2 separate regions of the Homo sapiens genome follow, and region 2 is linked to region 1. Evidence: promoter capture Hi-C in human tissues and cell types (Jung and others, 2019). All regions are on one chromosome and are shown on one strand. The core of a region is centred on a gene start or on the middle of the fragment in contact, and the rest is flanking DNA. Distances in the headings are between cores, read along the strand shown. Region 1 holds the start of UPK3A (uroplakin 3A). Region 2 has its middle 36 kb from the start of RIBC2.

Evidence for each region. The method cuts DNA at HindIII sites, captures the fragments that hold promoters and counts their contacts. A contact is called where the count stands out against the background at its distance.
Region 2: a contact is called between a fragment that was not itself captured here and the fragment with the promoter of UPK3A in region 1, in 1 of the 25 tissues and cell types used here (dorsolateral prefrontal cortex).

Annotation. Positions count from the first base shown.
Region 1 is chr22:45,282,905-45,287,223 of GRCh38, forward strand. UPK3A (uroplakin 3A) reads left to right here and starts at 2,045. Exons shown (of 6, transcript NM_006953.4): 1 at 2,045-2,161; 2 at 3,037-3,192; 3 at 4,268-4,319. The coding sequence starts at 2,110. RefSeq lists a silencer at 1,866-2,175. The HindIII fragment of the contact is 20,192 bases long and covers 1-4,319 here.
Region 2 is chr22:45,447,228-45,451,546 of GRCh38, forward strand. No RefSeq gene overlaps it. Among named protein-coding and RNA genes, the nearest start is that of RIBC2, 36 kb to the left of the region's middle. The HindIII fragment of the contact is 9,220 bases long and covers 1-4,319 here.

The DNA.
Region 1 (4,319 bases), core at 795-3,294:
TGGGCGGGACATGGATGTCCAAGTAGCTGGGACTACAGGCGCCTGCCACCACGCCTGGCTAGTTTTTTGGGTTTTTTTGTATATTTAGTAGAGAAGGGGTTTCACTGTGTTGGCCAGGCTGGTCTCAAACTCCTGACCTCATGATCTGCCCACCTCGGCCTCTCAAAGTGCTGGGATTACAAGCGTGAGCCACCGCATCCAGCTGGGGAAAGATTTTTAGGGATCAAGGGCCGGGCGCGGTGGCTCACGCCTGTAATCCCAGCACTTTGGGAGGCTGAGGTGCGTGGATCACAAGGTCAGGAGATTGAGACCATCCTGGCTAACACAGCGAAACCCCGTCTCTACTAAAACAATACAAAATATCAGCCAGGCATGGTGGCAGGTGCCTGTAGTCCCAGCTACTCGGGAGGCTGAGGCAGAAGAATGGCGTGAACGTGGGAAGTGGAGCTTGCAGTGAGCCGAGATCACGCCACTGCACTCCAGCCTGGGTGACAGAGCAAGACTCCGTCCCCCCCAAAAAAAAAAAGAAAAAAAAGATTTTTAGGGAACAAGACATACATTAATCCAGAGATACCAACTTTACCAAATGATGAAATGGAACATCCCCAATAATGGGACACACTGACCTCATGTGCTTCCTTCCTCCATTCCAAATCTCCCTCATCCTACAGTGAGAATCTGGGTTCTGGTACCACCAATCCTAGGATAACCCAAAGTTGCTTCGGAATGGCTCCGCCCTCCCCACTGCCAATAACAAAGTCACTAGTGAGGTTTGGGGTTCTGTCACAGGCCTCCCAGTTCTTAGAGTGTACTCCACTAAGGAGGTACCCCTGGACAACCCAGCTCTATAATTACTCAGATCGTTTTATTCTTTTTCTGCAAGTGAGGTTATGTCATCAACGTCATACAGAGATTAATTAGTTTCTGTTGATTTTCTTTATCTTTTTTCTAAGAGACAGGGTCTGGCTCTGTTATTGCAGCTTTAATCATAGCTCAAAGTGGCATGATCATAGTTCACTGTAGCCTCGACCTCCTGGGCTCAAGCAATCCTGGGACTACAGGCATGCCCCACTAGGCTGAGCTAATTTTTTTTTTTTTTTTTTTGGTAGAGATGGGGTCTCACTATGATGCCCAGGATGGTCTCTAGCTCCTGGCCTCAAGGGATCCTCCTATCTTGACCTCCCAAAGTGTTGGGATTACAGGCATGAGCCTCCTTGCCCCTCTTCTGTTGTTTTTTTCCTATCCTTGTTGACTTACTTTTATTTCTTAAATGTAAAATTGATTTAAGGTGCATCCAGAGATGTGCACAGATTCTTGTGATGGAGGGAACCGCACAGTCATGGTGAGGAGTCCATCATAATTTTCAAACGCCCCTTTAAGAAGTAGGCATTAACACCCTGCTCCATCCCTTTGGAGGCAGCCCTGGGCTGAGCACTGGACTCCTGGGTTCCACCAGCCTCAGTGTCTCCAGGAGACCAAGCGCGGCCGGGGGTGAGTCCCTGTCCCCGCGCCCCCCACCACGCTCCAATACTTACCCCCTGCCCCACCCCCCAGCCTCCCGGGCCTTGGCTTGTACCTGTGAACCGAAGGGGTCATACTAGGCGTCATACTAGGGTCTCTGGATAGCTCCCAGGCCTGGACTTCGTTTTCCAGGATATCACCTTTACTGGTCAACCCATTTTGTTTCGCGAGTGCCCAGTGAGTGTTTGGCACGTAATAGAGCCTCCATAAATAGTTGTAGAAATTAGCGTCATTTTACAGTATGGAAACTGAGGCTCCAAGTGGGAGTGGCTTGCCCTCAAGGTCCCATTGGTGAGAGACGCTGTGGAAGGGCTGCCCTGGCCTGGGCACACAGTAGGCGCTTTGATGCGGGCTGGAGAAGGTCCTGCCCGGTGGGATTGCGCCCTGGGGCACCGCGCACGGGTCGGGGAAGCCCGGGGCAGGGCCGTATGCAAATAGCGCGCGAGGAGGCCGCGGATTGGCCAGCCCAGGCGGGGGCGGGGCGCGCCGAGGGCCCAGAGCTGGCAGGTGCCCTGGCAGGGACAGGTCTGGTGCCCGCGCCTGCTCGCTGGACCGCCCGCCCCGCGCTCTGGCGGCTCCTCCCGGGCGATGCCTCCGCTCTGGGCCCTGCTGGCCCTCGGCTGCCTGCGGTTCGGCTCGGGTAGGCGGTGAAGGGCAGGAGGGGGCTGAGCCCAGAAAGAGCGGGCAGCTCTGCCCTGGGGCGCCCGCCGCCTGGACCCTGATTCCTGGCGCTGGGGACCCAGATATTACTGTTATGAATAATAGTGATAGCCAACGTTTACGGGCCTCCTCTGTTGGGAATCCGAGGGCTCACAGATGGCTGCAGCCCTGCGATGTGTGTTGCAAGAGACCAACATGCAGGGGGGCTGCGGTAGGACAGAGAAGGGACTAGCCCCAGCCCCATGGTGACGCCTGGACGGGGGCAGATAGAGAGATATTTCGGCCGAGGAAGCAGCATGGGCAAGTTCATGGAGGGGAGACAATATTGGGCTGTCCTGGGAACTGCCAGTCCATGGGACCAGCTGGAGCCTGGGGTGAGGGGAGCCTGTGGGGGAAGGGGTGAGGCTGGAGACCGAACAAAGCAAAGCCCAGAACTTCAGGACCTCACTGCCTTTCCAGAGAGGCTGGACTTCGTCAGGGGGCGCTGGGGGACCATGGGAGGGCCATAGCCAGAGAATGAGGCAGTCAGACTTGCATGTGGGGGGAGGGCCCAGGTGAGGAAGGTGGGACGGAGGAGGGCTGGGCCGATGGCATGGAGAGATGCTTAGGAGGGGCAGTGGAGTTCTTGGCAACTGAGTGTCTGCAGCAGGGAGAGAAGGCAGCAGTTTGGCCCGACCGCTCCATTTCTGAGCAGGATGACTGGGCAGGGGGCAGTGTCTGAGACAGCTTATGCGGTGGCCCAGGGGGAGGGTGAAGCCCAGGGCCTGGCACACAACACGTGCTCAGTAACTGCAAGCAGAGTGGGTGTGGACAGTTCTGCCGGAGGTCAGTTCCCATCCTCACTGCCTCCTCCAGCTGTGAACCTGCAGCCCCAACTGGCCAGTGTGACTTTCGCCACCAACAACCCCACACTTACCACTGTGGCCTTGGAAAAGCCTCTCTGCATGTTTGACAGCAAAGAGGCCCTCACTGGCACCCACGAGGTCTACCTGTATGTCCTGGTCGACTCAGGTAAGGGTCCTGCTTCCCTCTGGCTACTCCAAAAGGGGCTCTGACCTGTCTGCAGGGAGGAGGGAAGGAGGCAGATAGAGGAACCCTCCATGCCTGTAGTCGTCTCATTAAACAGGTACTGCAGCCACAGACCTGTCCTTGCCTTGCAGGGACATCCAGTTAGTGAGGGAAGTAATAACACCACCAGTCACTGAACACCTACACCATACCAGGCACTTTGCACACCATAGAGCTAGTATCTACAACCAGCTTGTAAGGTAGCTATTACCAATCCCCATTACAGAGCAGGGAAGCAAGGCTCAGAGAGGTGGAATAACCCCCCCTGGACCTCCCAGGGCTGGAGAGTGAATCCTGATCTCTCTAGTCCCCAAGCCCAAGGTCCTTCCTGAGGCTTCGAAAGGTGGCTCAAGATTGGTGTTTCTGAGACAAAACCATGCATTTGGACCTGCTGCTGTGGCCCAGCCCCAACCCCTGCCCTGGAGGGGATCCTGAGCTTCTGAGACAAGCCAACATCAACTCTTGCATTTCTAGCAGCCAGTCATTTACAACAGCTCATTCGGGACCATCCTTTTCTTCTTTCAGCATGTGTTTATTGACTATAAACTAAAGTGCCTGATCTCCGGGCACTGTAGGGAATTTCTCTCCCATTTCATAGAAGACTAGGGTCTGAAGAGGTAGAGTGAGTTGTCCAAGGTCACCCATCTAGTAAGGAGGAGAGCTGGGTCCTGCCTCCACGTTATTTCCCTTGGACCGATGACCTTCCTTTCCCATTTTACACAAGAGAGAATCCAGGGCTTTCAGCAATGAAGAGACAAAGGTCTGTTGGGATGGGGGGTTGCAGGAATGTCACAAGATAAGGCGAGAGTCAGACACAGCGCCCAAAGCAGGGAGGTGATCCTTGTCCATCTCCCACATTGCACTGAGAGGGCAGAGACTAAGTTTGCCCCATGCCTGTGATGCCAGTGCCCAGCACAGAGCTGGGGCAGAAAGGATGATCAGGCATTTGATGAATAACTGAGTGAGTGTCGCTGAGCCGGAGTGGCCAGAAGCCTGACTCCCTGCACCGCCTCTGCAGCCATTTCCAGGAATGCCTCAGTGCAAGACAGCACCAACACCCCACTGGGCTC
Region 2 (4,319 bases), core at 1,124-3,623, 160 kb after region 1:
TCATCATGGGAAGAAGTACTGCATTCGGGGACGGGCTGGTTGGAATAAAGGAGCAAGTTTCCACTGGCCGGGTGCGGTGGCTCACGCGGATTACAACGTCAGGAGTTCGAGACCAGCCTGGCCAATATGGTGAAACCCTGTCTCTACTAAAAATACAAAAAAAAAAAATTAGCCAGGCGTGGTGGTGGATGCCTGTAGTCCCAGCTACTCAGGAGGCTGAGGCAGGAGAATCGCTTGAACCCGGGAGGCGGAGGTTGTAGTGAGCCGAGATCAGGCCACTGCATTCCAGCCTGGGAGACAGAGCAAGACTCTGTCTCAAAAAAAAAAAAAAAAAAAAAAAAAAAAAAAAAAAAAAGAAGCAAGTTTCCCCCATTCTATTTCATGGGTTCCCTTCTCCTCCAGCTTCTCCATGGATCTCTTGGGAATCTGTGGACTCAACTCAAGAAATCCTGTATTGGCCGGGGCGGTGGTTCATGCCTGTAATTCCAACACTTAAAAAAATTTTTGTCAAGCCAGGCATGGTGGCTCATGCCTGTAATCCCAGCAATTTGGGAGGCTGAGGTGGGAAGATCACAAGATCAGAAGTTCAAGACCAGCCTGGCCAACATGGTGAAACCCTGTCTCTACTAAAATAGAAAAATTAGCCAGGTGCAGTGGCTCATGCTTGTAATCTCCGCACTTTGGAGGCCGAGGTGCTGAGATCACCTGAGGTCAGGAGTTTGAGACCAGCCTGGCCAATATGGTGAAATCCCATCTCTACTAAAAAATACAAAATATAGCCGGCTGTGGTGGCATGTGCCTGTACTCCCAGCTACTGGGGAGGCTGAGGCAGGAGAATCGCTTGAACCTGGGAGGCAGATGTTGCAGTGAGCCAAGATTGCACTACTACTGCCCTCTCACCTGGGCGACAGAGTGAGACTCCATCTAAAAAAAACAAAAATTTTTTTTTCAAATATTAAAAAAAAAGGAACCCTGAATTACACCCATTTTGCTGATGAGTTGAATAAAACGAGGCTCAGGTAGGTGAAGAGACTTGCTCAAGACCATGTAGTCCTGAGCTGGATGGGAATCCAGGCTGCGTGGCCACAAAGCCCACTTCAGACTCCTGCCCTCCATCTGTAAATTGGAGATCACCCGGCTTACCTGGCTCGGCTGCTGTGAGAATTTGGTGCAATGTGTGTGCAAAGGCCCAGTCCATGGGAAGGGCTCCATCAACAGCCACTCCTGGGATCCTGGGATAGCCGGATGAGATGGAGGCCAGACAGAAAGAATGGGCTCTGGGCGCTTGCCCTGTGGCTGTCAGCGGCCTGGATGATTTGAGGCTGTTTTTGAAGAGCCCAGCCCTCCCTCAGGCTGTAAGTTGGCAAGTTGAGTCCCAGGCCCGGCCGGTGGCCTGGGGCCAGCTGGGTGGGGCAGGGAGCTGGCTGGTCACTGAGGCACCAAGCAGGGAGGAAGAGAGAGGCTGCCCCAACCTTGACCCAACCCCGCCTTGCAAGCAAGCCCCAGAGGAGGGAAAGAATGGACTCGATCTCTCGACTCCTTTTATGTAGCCATGTGCACAAGATGAATGGCCAGGGAGCTGTCAGGAGGAAGGCCTCGGCCTCTGGATCTGGGTGGTCTCCCTTCCTGTGGAATTAGCTGCACAGGCTCCCGCTCTCTTGCCTCCTCGCCAGGGTTCCCAAGTCACACCTGGTGCAGTCACAATTGCACTGAGGCCCCTGGAACCTCCTGAGGGGGTTCTTTATTAATTATTATTATTTTTTTTTGAGACGGAGTCTCACTTTGTCACCCAGGCTTGAGTGCAGTGGCGCGATCTCGGCTCGCTGCAAGCTCTGCCTCCCAGGTTCATGCCATTCTCCTGCCTCAGCCTCCCAAGGAGCTGGGACTACAGGCACCCGCCACCATGCCCAGCTGATTTTTTTTGTATTTTTTAGTGGAGACGGGGTTTCACCGTATTCGCCAGGATGGTCTCGATCTCCTGACCTTGTGATCCGCCCGCCTCGGCCTCCCAAAGTGCTGGGATTACAGGCGTGAGCCACCGCACCCGGCCTCTATTTTTTTTTTTTTTTTTTGAGACAGAGTCTTGCTCTGTCTCCCAGGTTGGGAGTGCAGTGGCATGATCTCGGCTAACTCCCAGGTTCAAGTGATTCTTGTGCCTCAGCCTCTCGAGTAGCTGGGATTATGGGCACCACCATGCCCGGTAATTTTTGTATTTTTAGTAGAGATAGTGTTTTGCCATGTTGGCCAGGCTGGTCTCGAACTCCTGGCCTCAAGTGATCCACCTGCCTCGTCCTCCCAAAGTGTTGGGATTACAGGTGTGAGCCATTGCACCTAGCCTATTTATGTATGTATGTATGTATGTATTTATTATTATTTTCTAAGACAGAGTCTCACTCTGTTGCCTAGGCTGGAATACAGTGGCGCAATCTTGACTCACTGCAACCTCTGCCTTTCAGGTTCAAGCAATTCTTTTGCCTCAGCCTCCTGAGTAGCTGGGACTACAGGCATGTGCCACCACGCCTGGCTAATTTTTATATTTTAGTAGAGATGGGGTTTCACCATGTTGGCCAGGCTAGTCTCGAACTCCTGACCTCAAGTGATACTCCTGCCTTGGCCTTCCAAAGTGCTAGGATGACAGGCGTGAGCTGCTGCACCTGGCCCTATTTATTTATTTTTGATGTAGAGTCTCGCTCTGCCACCCAGGCTAGAGTGCAGTGGTGCAATCTTGATCTTGGCTCACAGCAGTCTCCACCTCCTGGGCTCCAGCAATCCTCCCACCTCAGCCTCCCAAGTAGCTGGGTCTACAGTTGCGCACCACCACACTTGGCTAATTTTTGTATTTTTGCAGAGACCGGTTCTCACCAGATTGCCCAGGTTGGTCTTGAACTCCTGGGCTCAAGAGATCTGCCTGCATCAGTCTCCCAGAATGCTGGGATTACAGGCGTGAGCCACCGTGCCAGCCCTCTTGGGGGTTTCTCGGGCTAAGCCATTACCTCTCAGCCTCCGTGCCCCGGTGGGCTCTGAAGGAGCCTGTTTCATCCTGAGCAATGGTGGAGGCGGAGGCTGCAGAGGAGGGGTGAAGTCCTGGGGCTCTGGGGGAGACAAAGGACCCTGCTGGTGTCCCTCAGACCCGGGTTCTGGCCCCTCTGCTTCGTGTGACTTCAGACAAGTCGCTTTACCTCTGTGAGTCTGTTTCCCCAGCTGTAAAATGGGGATCATAACACCAACCTACCTCTCAGGATCCCCAAGAGGAGGAAGTAGGCGAATGTACAAGAAGGCCCCTTCCACCCAGCCTGGGCACTGCTGGTGCTCACAGGGACTCAGGAACAGTGCGTCATGGGGCGTGGGTCACCTTCTCTGGGCCCACATACCAGCTTTGCCTCTCACTGGCCGTGTTCTCTTGGAAAAATGACCTACGTTTCCTAAGTCTATGTTTCCACATCTGTAAAATGAGGATGATCCACATATGGTTGTCCCAGTATTATTCTGAGAATTAAATGAGATACTTCATTAAAGTACTTGATGCATAGGATGGACTTAATAAATTACTACGTAACGATACACTCTGGGAATATGTAAGGCCTGTGAGTGGAGAATGCCATGCCGGGGATGTTATTTGGAAGGATCCAGAATCACTAAAACAGAATTTAACAGGGAGAAGGATAAAAGTTCTCCATTAAAGTTCCAAACATGAGTTTCGTATATTTTTCCACTTCTGTGTCAGAGAAGCCACACCTCTCCCGTCACCAGCCCTCGGAACCTGCAGAAAGAGATGTCAAATGGGAAGACCTCGCATGTGCTGGCTTGTGGCATTTGCCTGTTTCTTTTCACAGCCAACGAACCGTCACTGAGCACCGTCTGTGTGCCCCGAGGTAAGGGGCCTGGGGAAGCCCCAGGAAATGATCCCGGGTCCTCATCCCTAAGGGGTTCACCCTTTGAGGCTGTTCTGCCTTCCTGGTGGAAAGTTCAGATGAACACCCTGAAATTGACCAAGTGGCTGGCTTTCTTCCACCCAGAAACACATTGGGAAATGGATATTCTAGAAGAGTTCTCCAACAACCATTTCTTGGAATTGTAAATGTCTGAGGGCTGCTGCAATACTTCAGATTATCTTGTTTTCTTGATCTGTGGAAGCCAAGATTTTAATGCTACATCTGTGTGAGTATCTTTTGATAATAAGAACCAAATGTTGTCGGTGGAAATGACTGGAAATTACACTTAGGATCAGAATGTGGGGTTTTAGATTCCCTCTTGGAAGGCAGTGCTGAGAAACAAACACAAGGGACATTTTCCCTATAAATCACTCAGGATGTTGCAAC